Linked DNA regions of Homo sapiens: all the other regions are linked to region 1. The links are contacts of gene promoters, found by promoter capture Hi-C in blood cells and fetal thymus (Javierre and others, 2016). All regions are on one chromosome and are shown on one strand. Each heading gives the region's core, a stretch centred on a gene start or on the middle of the fragment in contact. The rest is flanking DNA. Distances are from core to core; before and after follow the strand shown. Region 1 overlaps ARAP1 (ArfGAP with RhoGAP domain, ankyrin repeat and PH domain 1). Region 2 holds the start of RELT (RELT TNF receptor). Region 3 holds the start of P2RY2 (purinergic receptor P2Y2).

The links. The method cuts DNA at HindIII sites, captures the fragments that hold promoters and counts their contacts. A CHiCAGO score of 5 or more calls a contact.
Region 2: the fragment with the promoter of RELT here is called in contact with a fragment that was not itself captured in region 1 in 1 of 17 cell types (neutrophils); the score reaches 5.0 in neutrophils.
Region 3: the fragment with the promoter of P2RY2 here is called in contact with a fragment that was not itself captured in region 1 in 1 of 17 cell types (neutrophils); the score reaches 6.3 in neutrophils.

What each region holds. Positions count from the first base shown.
Region 1 is chr11:72,690,206-72,693,783 of GRCh38, reverse strand. It overlaps ARAP1 (ArfGAP with RhoGAP domain, ankyrin repeat and PH domain 1), which reads left to right. Exons shown (of 35, transcript NM_001040118.3): 28 at 1-92; 29 at 314-459; 30 at 999-1,031. Among named protein-coding and RNA genes, the nearest start is that of ARAP1-AS2, 8.5 kb to the left of the region's middle. The HindIII fragment of the contact is 2,865 bases long and covers 1-2,682 here.
Region 2 is chr11:73,374,408-73,377,985 of GRCh38, reverse strand. It overlaps RELT (RELT TNF receptor), which reads right to left and starts at 1,587. Exons shown (of 11, transcript NM_152222.2): 1 at 1,487-1,587. RefSeq lists an enhancer at 608-902 and silencers at 1,068-1,147, 1,238-1,527, 1,558-1,867. The HindIII fragment of the contact is 14,706 bases long and covers 1-3,578 here.
Region 3 is chr11:73,216,610-73,220,187 of GRCh38, reverse strand. It overlaps P2RY2 (purinergic receptor P2Y2), which reads right to left and starts at 1,907. Exons shown (of 3, transcript NM_002564.4): 1 at 1,756-1,907. It overlaps LOC124902709 (a long non-coding RNA gene), which reads left to right and starts at 1,995. Exons shown (of 3, transcript XR_007062773.1): 1 at 1,995-2,161. RefSeq lists enhancers at 636-1,354, 1,355-2,073 and a silencer at 1,787-1,996. The HindIII fragment of the contact is 6,402 bases long and covers 1-3,578 here.

The DNA of each region.
Region 1 (3,578 bases), core at 1-2,500:
GAAGGTGCTGCCCATCCTGCACGGGCTGGGCACGGACAGCCACCTGGTGGTGAAGAAGCACCAGGCCATGGAGGCCATGCTGCTGTACCTGGGTAGGTGGTGCCTGCAGGGTGGCCAGGCTCCGGGTGGTCCTCTCTTCCAGAGCCAGGGTGGGACCTGGTGGTGCCAGGTAGGAACAGCTCAGACAGAGGGCGCCAAGTGGGTGGGCCTCTATGGAGAGGCTGGGGCAGGATGGGGCAGCTTCCTTCATCCTGGGACCCAGCCCCGGGTAGGGGTTGGTGCAGCCTGTGCCCACTCCAGTCCCACCCCCCAGCCAGCCGTGTCGGTGACACCAAGCATGGCATGATGAAGTTCCGTGAGGACCGCAGCCTCCTGGGCCTGGGCCTGCCCTCAGGTGGCTTCCACGATCGCTACTTCATCCTCAACAGCAGCTGCTTGCGGCTCTACAAGGAGGTCCGGGTAAGTGGCCCCGCTGGGTTCTGCCCCAGGGTGGGCACCTGTACACCTGAATGTGCTCAGAGATTCCCCTTGGTCTGCAAGTGGAAATATTCCCGTTACAGGCTCTCAGGATGGCACAGCAGTGGGGGAGAACTGTAGACTCTCAAGACCCCTCCTGCTGTGGCCCTGGACGGCCACTCTAGTGTGCCCTGTAGCCCCACTAAGCCCTGGCACCCGGATGCCATCACACCACTCCATGCCCATGCTCTGTCTCACTGTGCCTGTGCCTTATCACTGCATCCACAGGAACCTGTTACTTGATGACAGCCCCAAGTTGTGCATGCATGCCTTGTCATATCGTATGTCATATGCCTCCCGGGCCACCCTTCTCCCTCATTCTGTCCACATGCAGGTGTTCTCCCAACCCAGACTCCATTTGACACCCTCCACCTTCTGCACATACATGCCATACACACACCCCAACCCCACACATCACTGCACATGCTGTCCTGGCTCTAGACCTGGGACTTCTTCCATAACCCTGATCCTCTATCAAACAGAGCCAGAGGCCGTGGAGCGGGGCCCCTGAGACCGTGAGTAGCTGTGGGCTGACTGCCAGCTGCCTTACACCACCTGGGGGCCAAATGAGCTGGGTGGGAGCATGGGGAGACAGCCAGGGCTCCTGGCCATCTCCAGGCATGGATCCCTGCCCCCTTGCCCGTTGGCACTGGCCCCTATCCTGGGGCCTAAGCTCCTCCCCTTTATCCCTAATCCTGTCCCAGGGTCCTTTCCCCAATATAGGGTTCCTTATCAGTGCAATGCTCTAGAATTTTCCAAAGGACTTAGTGTAGAAGTTAAAGAGCCAGTAATGATGGCACCTAGGTTTGAATTAGAGCCCTGATCTTCATCTCCTGTCATCCCTGGAGCCACCTTATTTCCAACCCTGGACAGTGTTCCAGGACTGTCAGAATGTTCTTGCTACTGCCCTGATCCTAACATGCCGGGGTGGGACGAGAGAGGCTTGTGGGATACCCCCACCTGGGGTAGCAGTCTCTCTGAGGCTTCCTGGCTGGCTATTTCCACTCTGCACACTCCTAGGAGAGAGAGCTCATCCCTCCGCCCTTGGGGCTGCCCTGTTCCTAGGGGGATACTTCTGTCTGGAAAAGGTCCTTGCTCAGGTTCTGCTGAGAATCTGCATCTCATGATGCCCCCATGGGTCCCAGCTATGCCTTGGGGGCTACAGAGCATAGATGCCCTGCAGCAGGGGTCCCCAACTGTTGGGAACAGGGCCGTGCAACAGGAGGTGAACATCGGGCGAGTGAGCATTACTGCCTGAGCTCTGCCTCCTGTTAGGTCAGCAGCGGCGTTAGATTCTCGTAAGAGTGCGAACCCTACTGTGAACTGTGCAAGCGAGGGATCTAGGTTGTGCGCTTCTTATGAGAATCTGATGTCTGAACATCTGAGGTTTTACAGTTTTATCCCGAAACCATCCCCCCACCCATGGAAAAATTGTTGTCCACAGAACTGGTCCCTGGTACCAAAAAGACTGGGGACTGCTGCCCTGCAGGATGGGCAACAGAGACATGGTTCCAAGCCTGGTGGTCTAGCCTGAGCTCCCACAGCTACCCACCACCCCATCCCCAGTGTCTTCAGCCTCTTCCTGCCCCTTGCATTTCCTGAGGTCATCTGAACAGGCTTGGCTGCCATGGCAGGAGCAGAGCAGATAGAGCAGGACCTCATCTCCTTCTCTTTGCATTTTGTGCCTCCTCTAATGCATCCTGGGCTCCTGCTAACCCTGTGGGAAACACCGTCTCTTCTCTCCTTTGCCCTCTTCTGTGATCACATCCTCACTTCTGAGCCTATCTGCCCATCCAGTCAATCCCCCTTGGTTCTGGGATGCTATTTCCCTGGCCGCCTCCCTCTAGGAGTGTTTAGAACCCTCACTGTGGGCAGAAGGGAGGGAAGATGGCTGAGGTACCTGGAAAGGGACGTGTGGATCCCTGGGCATGGAAGGAAGGAGGCAGGAGAGCTAGAAAAAGGGATGAGATCTAATGTTCCCTAAGGAACCTGGCTTAGTGCTGGCCCTTCACATACTGAGACATGGAATCCTTACTACTGTTCTCTGAGGAAGAGGGCTGTCCCCACTTCCAGGTGAGAAAACAGGCTTTGTGTGACTTGCCCAAGGCCATCTATAAGTGTAGACTGGGACTTGCACCCAGGTTTCTTAGTGTGGAAACGCAAGCTTGTATTCCTGGAAGTCTCAGACTTGAGGACTCAGCAGGGAGGGGTGCTCAGCACAGGGTAGGTGGTGCTCTTCACACCCCAGAGACAGCCAACACCTCTGGCCTGGCAGAGGCCCTGAGCAGATGTGAGCTGGTTACCACGGGGTTATCAACTCTGGCATTTGTTGGTTTATGCGGCAGTAGGACAGAATATTTGAAATTGGGACAATCTCAGGTGATTCAGTAGGATATATGTCCACTTGTGCCTTATCCTGGGGGTCTCCTCTTGTTAAAGACCCTGAGGCACCTGGAAAAGGCACATGCTAGAAAGATCTTGGTTCCAGCAGAGATCCTTAAGCATCAAGAGTAAACGTCATTGTCTGCCCATGGCCCCATGCCTTGGAGATGCTGGAAACATGAGCCGTCTGATTAGAAATGTCCTTGGGCCAGGTGCAGTGGCTCATGCCTGTAATCCCAGCACTTTGAGAGGTCAAGGTGGGAGGATGGCTTGAGTCCAGGAGTTTGAGACCAGCCTGGGCAACATGGTGAAACCCTGTCTCTATAAAAATTAGCCGGATGTGATGGTGCATGCTTGTAGTCCCAGCTACTCAGGAGGCTGAAGTGGGAGGATGGCTTGATCCCATGAGTTGGGGTTGCAGTGAGCTGAGATTGCACCACTACACTCCAGCTTGGGGGATTCATTCTCAAAAGGAGATTGCATTGACTGACATCCTTCCCTCCCAAGACCCACTTCTGCAGACTTTCTGACTCAGCCACCCTTACATCACACACATGTCATGCACATCAGACCCCAAGGAATCGGAGGCCTGAGGGTTGTGTTTTCATTCTTGGAGCCACAGCCTGGTTTGAATGTCTTGATTCCTGCAGTTGCCTCTGCGCCTGACTGGGCCTGTCCCG
Region 2 (3,578 bases), core at 338-2,837, 680 kb before region 1:
GTGACAGAGGACCAGGAAGCCTTTGGGTGGGAGGCTAACGTTTCCTTGACCAGTTTTGGAGAAGGCTGTGCTTCCAACCCTATCAGTAGCCCCTGAGTGCAGCCCCTGGGCCGCTGTGTCCCCAGGAGAAGCCTGCCCCCACCCCCCACTGCAGTCTTTCTGCCTGAAGGGAAGGGAGAACACAGGCAGTTGACCCAAAACAATAGAGGATCCCAAAGTGATGATTCACAGTCCATTCAAAGCCCAGCACCTCAGTGTGCAGATGGGGAGACTGAGGCCTGCGCGGGGGAGGGGGGCGGGGGGGTCTGAGAACAAGATTGTGTCCGGGTCCGCTGAGAATACAGATTACACAGGGGCAGAACTTTGCCAGGTGTAGGGACTTCGATGCGTGAGTGTGTGGATGCAGGTGGGCGGGGGGAAGCTGAGACTACCACAGGGCCCCTACCCTGCTGCCATCTGGGCCACCCCACCAGATGTTGCCCAGCCTCGGCTTTCTCCCTCAGCCAGGGCCTATCCCTCAGGGTCCATCTCCTCACCAAGCTGAACTCCTGAGGGGTGCCCTCGTGGGGACAGTCCTGGAGACCCTTGTCTCCTGGCTCCCCAACTTCCTCATCGCCCCACATCTGCCGGAAGGTGTCCTAGGTCCGGTCCCTCCTCCTCCTGCCTCTTACTCATCATCACCCTAGGCGCAGACACACACACACACACACACACACTGACACCACTTGACCCCACACGCACACCATGGCGCCAGCGAGCTCGGCTCGTTCTCAGTCACTTGGGCTCCTCTCCCTCTATTTCACACTCACAGTAACGGGTGGCCCTGGCCCTGCGCCGGTCACGCCCCAAGCCACGCACTTCGTGACCCCAGTGACCCCGGGTCTTTCCCTCACACAACACACGCACACACGCTGCCTGTCTCCCACACACAGAGCCCCTCTGTGTCGCCCGCTCGGCCCGGCGTCACCGCCCAGTGTCCCAGCCACACGTTCGCCCGGCCAGGCCGCCTCACGCGCCGTGTCACCCACAGTCACGGGCTGACACCATCCAGACCCCCCCTTGGCCGCCCCGCGCCGCAGCCGCGCCGAGGCGCCGCCGTCCAGCCCGCACCACAACCTGGTCTCGGTCCAAGTTTCCCGGGCCGGGGACCGCTCCGGGCCCCGCCGGCCCCTCACACCGCAAGTTCCGCTGCTTCCCCGCGCGCCCCCCGACAGCCACCACGCAGGGCCGGCCCGGAGTCGCGGCCGGAGGACCTGCAGGTCACGGGGCTCGGAGACTGGCGGTGGCCGGTGCGCGGAAGGCGCCGGGACAGGACGCGAGGCGGGAGGAGTGGGGTGGGGGGGCGCGCGGCCGGGCTGCCGCATCCGCCGAGCCCGCGAACTTCCTCAGAGACACGGGGAGGCAGGGGGCGCCACTAGGGTCCGTATCCCGCTGGCCCGGCCGCGGAGAGCAGACTCTGGATGGGCGCTCCGCGCGCCCTCCTTACCTGGCTGCGCCGCGGCAGCTCCAGCTCGGCTCCCCGTTCGACTCGGCGCCGCGGCCCGGCTCGGCGAGCGCCCGGACAGCCGCGCAGCCTGCGCGCCTTTTGAATGAATCGCCGGCTGGGCCGGGAAGGTGCGCAGACCCGCCCCCGCGCGTCACGGCCGCTCCGCCCCCGACGTCAGAGCGCGGTCTGCGCCCCGCGCCCGACTCACCCCGAGCCGCGGAGGGGCTCGCCGCTCTGCCGCTGGGCGGTGCTGCTCTACGTCGCCCTCTCTCGCGCCCCTGGGAACTGCAGGGGGCTGCGCGGGACTGGGCGGCGGTGCCCAGAGGGCCTCTTGTATCCGCCTCTTCAAGGCTCTGAACCAAGCAAGGAGTTGTGCGAAGCAAGATAAAGAGACTGGAGACTGAGATACTCCTCTGGGTCCTCTCAGCATTGCCAGTGTAACTAGAGCCACCTCTGCCCCTTTCTGGGCTTCATCTTCCTCCTGCCAGTTGGTGGCCAGGAAGAATAACCTCACTTTGCTTTGTTGACGAGGCCCAGGCCCAACCCTGGAAACCCTCACCTAGTTGGCGAAAAGGCCTGGTGAAGGTGAGTCTATAAAGGAAGCCCACACGGTGGGCTTCGGCACATCCTTCAAGGCCTAGTGAAATCCTCCAGGAGGCGTCTCCTGCCTCCACTCCCCTACTCCCCGCACCACTTCTCTGTGCCAGGGTAGTTAGTTTCCCTCCAGCAGGACAGGTGACTCAGTGCCCCCCTCCCTACTACAGCCATCCCACCCTGCCAGTTTCCAATGCCAGTCATCACAAACTCCAGGCAGTATTCACACTGTATTCCGACTCCGAATCGTGTCCCCTGGAGTTGTGCTACAGGGTGTGCCAGGACTGGAGGGAGCAGCTCAGTGGCCCGTTCCCCCTCTCAGTACTATTCAGGGGATCTCAGGCGGTCCTCCTGGGACAGTAGGGCTGATGGGAGACTGAGACACCAGGGAGGACCTAGTGCTGGGCCAGAGGCCTGGCTGGGGTCAGGATAATCACAGCCCATGACAGAGATGGAGAAAGGAAGGTAAATAAGTCAGCTGGGGATAGATGGCTGGGGGTGGGGTTCTAAACAGTCATAGAATCTGAACCCAGGGGCTAGGAGACGGAAAAGGTCAGGTCCCCAGGGTCCAGGAGATTCCAGGAGGCGAACTGGACACCGCATGGGGAGGGGAGCAGGGGATGAGTTTTCATTTCCCTGGGTCATGCTCAGGTTGTGGGGGAAGGGCATAAGGAGCTACAGGTCATTGATGTCAGGATCATGACATCAGCACCCTCATATGTCAATGGAGACCTCCAGGGCTGGGGCAGGGGTTCTTCCAGGGTCCCACATCCCAGCCTACGGAAGGCCAGAGCATCCAGAATGCCTCCACTCCTGGAAATGTTTTCTTTGTAAGGGGACCATCTACACCCCAGCTCTAGGTTCTAGAGTTCAAATGGTGGCAATTTCAGGTGTCGTCACTCAATAAACCAAATGGGGAAGGCCAGGTGTAGTGGTCACACCTGTAATCCTAGCACCTTGGGAGGCTGAGTTGGGAGGATCACTTAGCCCAGGAGTTCGAGACCAGCCTGGGCAACATGATGAAGCCCAGTCTCTACAAAAATATGTGGGAGAATCACTTGAGCCCAGGAAGTTGAGACTGCAGTGAGCCGCGATCGTGCCACTGCACTCCAGCCTAGGTGAGAGAGTGAGACCTTGTCTCAATCAATAAACTAAATGGGGAAATGCTTTTTGGAGCACTGGCTATTAATCAGACATCCCAGAGAGGGTCCAGGCCCCTCTCTACCACCAGCTCTCTGTGAGGTTTTCATCAAATCCACCCCCAACTCAGTTTCCTCATCTGAAAACTGGGGTGCCAGACATGTTGCCTGAAGTTCTCTGTGGGAGGCGGCTACCTGGCTGCCCTGGCAGCAGCTCCATAGAGTAGGTCTCCTGGGGCCACAGCCCAAACACTTCTCGCTCCTGCAACCCCCAGGTTAGGAGGGAGCCTAATTATTATTTACTGCTGGGTGGATGCGCCAGCTCCTCCTGCAGCCAGCTCTGACCCTGAAACCACTGT
Region 3 (3,578 bases), core at 658-3,157, 530 kb before region 1:
CCAGATTCTGGTTTGCCCTTCTTTGTAGTGACATGGAGCTCCCCTGCAGCCGGGCCTTTACTGGAGAAGCTGGTGCCAGAGACAGGGGATGGGCGCCACTGCTGCTCTCTCAGTTCAGCTCAGCCCTGTGCAGGGTGCTGGCAACACAGAAATAATAAGACCCAGTTTCTGCCCTCCAGGAGCCCCTAGACCTGGGAAGAGGAAAGGAGGAGACAGACATAGATCATGACGGTTCAGGTGGGACCAGGGCTGTCAGCCCCAGGCCTGTAGGGGCCTAGAAGAGGCTCCAACCCAGCTGTAGGGATCAAGGAAGGCTTTCCAGAGGAGAGGACATCTGAGCTGGGTCCCAAGTCTGGGTAGTTCTCCAGTTGAGGAAGGTGAGAGTAGGAGGGCTTATCAGAGAGGGAGTGTAGAATATGCAACAGGCCAGGGGCAAGAAATGAGAGACTCCAGGCAGCTGCTGCAAGGTAAAGAGTCAGGCGGGAGAGGTGGCTGGAAAGGCTGGCAGGCCCCAGTTATCAAATACCTTAAGTCCCAGGCTACAGGGTTCAGGCTTGGTCCTGTGGAAGGCTTGTGCCCTAGGGAGGGGCACAGTTGGGATTCTGGTTCTGGGAGGCTCCTTCCAGGGACTGACTTCCCATCCCCAAGCTGTGAGCCTGCCCATGGGGGGACACTGGTGCTGAACATGACACACTCATCAGCTCCTCAACAGCCCTCAAATTCCTTATCATTAGTCCCTTCTTACAGACGAGGCCACTGAGGCTCAGAGAAAGGACGGCTTGCCCAGGCCACACAGTGGCCAAGACAGGATTGGAACATAGATCTCTGAGTCTCCAGAGCTCTCTTGTGGACCTGTCTGCTCAGAGAATCTTCTTCCTTCCACTTCCACCCACAGGTAATAAACTTGCCTGGGTCTCCACCCAGATCCTCAAAACTCATAATTATTTCAGCTTAGATCCAAAACAAACCAGGCAGATCAGGCTGTGGTCCTGGGAAGCTGGGGATGCCATGCTGAGAGGAACAGCAGCCATGGACCCCACAAATCCCGAGCTGGCAATTCTGGTCTCCAGCAGTCCCCAACCCTTGGGCTGCGCTCCTGGAGGACCCCAAGAGGGCCACTGGCAGCCTTCGGGTTGGGGGGTGGGGTATCGCCTTTCTCCTGACTGACCCTTTCTACCGCACCATTTGCCAGATTAAAAGCCCGGGGACAGAGGCTTAACTGTCCTTTCTGGCCACTCCCTCCTCCCCCGCCCACTCCCTGCAACTGCCCCCTCAACATTACCAATGGTAGGTGGCCACCCAGAGTGACCCTGGGGTTAGGACAGTGGTAGGGGGTCTCCAGGGGTTCGCGTCTCTGGGCACCGGCCACCGCCTCACGCCACGGGGACGCTCACATCGGAGCACACACAGACAAGTTCCGCAGGCTTGGCCAGTCGCCCCGAGGGGCGCACACACTCACCCGCTAACACGCAGACCTCCCCAGTACGCTGACGCGCACAGCCTCACTACTGGGGCGCCCGTCCACACTCACCGAGACCGACGCTCCCGTGGAGACAAAGTTCAACCACGGACCCACAGGCGCGTTCAAGCCGTCCAGTTATGCGCTACACGCCGGCTCGCAACTGTGCCCCGGGGCGACAGCCGCTCCACAGCGCCCTCCCCTGCCCCGCGCCCAGTCCGCACCTGCGCCAGTCTGGCCCGCCGCTTCCCCGGGCCTCTCCCAGCGCCTTGTTCCCTCCAGACGCCCCACCCCACCTCTCGCCACTGCGCTGCGCTTCTCCTCTCAGGGTGCCGTCGCCGCCGCTCCCGGGTGCCAGTGCCCGGGTCCCGCCGCAGCCGCAGAGACCCACGTGCCTGGGAGCCCGGCTACCCACCTCCCTGCGCTGTTCCCCAACCCCGAAGCCGGGCCAGGCAGGGGGCGGGGCGGACTTTTGACTGACCCTGGCACCGCCCTCAACCCGCCCGGGTAGACACCGCGCCACCCGCTCCGGGACGCCGCCCAGCGACAAGGCCGCGGGGTCAGCGTGTCTGTACCGGTGCTGCAACGGGAGGGTCGGGCGGCGACGCTCTCACTGCCGGGCCAGAAGGAGGCCTCCCGGCTCCCTCACGCTAGAAGGGAGCTGGTTACCAGAGGTTTTCAGAGACGCCAAAGTTTTGCCAGGTCAGCCCGGTGCCTGCGTGGCCCACTGCGGGACCTTTGCGCCCAGCCACCGCGCCACCCTACCCCTGTCCCGCCCCTGCCCCAGCCCGGCTGGCCAGGAAGGGACCTACTGGGAGATACCTGCTCGGAACCCCAGGCTAAGGACGTACCTCCCTTGCTTGAAAGTGGGGGAAGGGGGTGCCTCTCTCCATTACCGTGGTTAGGAAAGCAGGGTACTCAGGATCCCGCCTCTCCCGTGCTCCCCACTTTCCCTGCCTTAATCTTATCAGCAGCTCCCTGAACTCCCCACTCTGGCCCCTTATCTTGAGCTGCTTTACCTCTCTTCTCTGTCGTCAACCCCACTCTAATGGCCTTCCCTGGTCGGGCTACCGGCTGCATGTCTGACCCGTTCGGAGACTGTGAGCTCCCGAGGGCAGGAACCAGGTCTGCCTTCTTCCTGCTGCTGTCCTAGAGGTCCTGGGAGGTGCTCAATCCTTGAAGGTGTGAATGGATGAATGAATGAGCACCCCGCCTCTCTCTCATTTCTGGTCTAGGAATCAGGAGTGTAGGTTCCTGTCTGGCTTCAGCACTGACTCTGGGAGACCTTGACCCAGTTCCATTCCCTGGCAGGGTCTTCTTTCCTGTGAAATGGAGCCAATCGCTCCGCTGGCTGGACAAGTGCAGAGGAGGCCTCTTCCTGTAGCCAAGGAACTTGCCCCGGGCCTTCGGGGCCTTGGGCCCTCTTGGGCTCCATATCAGCTGACTGGGCCTGGCTGCCAGGAAGGGTGCTGGCTGCAGCCCCACCAGGAGCAGTAGCAGAGTGGACACACAGCCCATAGTGGCTGAGCCGCCTCTGCAGTCCTGCTGGGGCCTTTGCTTGGGAGACACAAAGGCCCCTTGTCTAGCCTCCTGCGCCTATTGTCTAAGCTGGGCCACGCACCTTCCAGGGACCTAAGTATCCTCATAGCCCGAGTTATAGGGCCTAGGCCTTCAGGTTCCAGTGTGGGGAAGACCCTTTGGGCACTGGAACTCCAGCCAACCCTCTCTTTCTCTCCCCTCTTCCAAAACTTCAAACCTTATACTGTCACTGCCATTTAGCCCAGGAGAAACAAGTTTCTTTGACGCCAAGTTGAGGACCCAGGCTCGACCTTAGCCTTCAGCGGGCAAATCTGGTTGGTGGCCTGCCCAGGGCTCTGCCCCTGCTCTGGCCCAATTCCCTTACTTTACAGCTGAGGAAACTGCATTCCTGAGACATACAGCGTTTCAGCTACCACACAGGTGACTTAGTGAGGCTTGAGGAGCAGAGGAAGGGGCCTAGTCCTTGAACCCCATAGCCTTGGGTTTAGATTCCAGTCTTACCTCACCTGTCCTATGACTCCTCTCTGAGCCTGAGTTTCCTCTTTTGCAAAAGGGAGTAATACTAATCTCTCACTTGCTG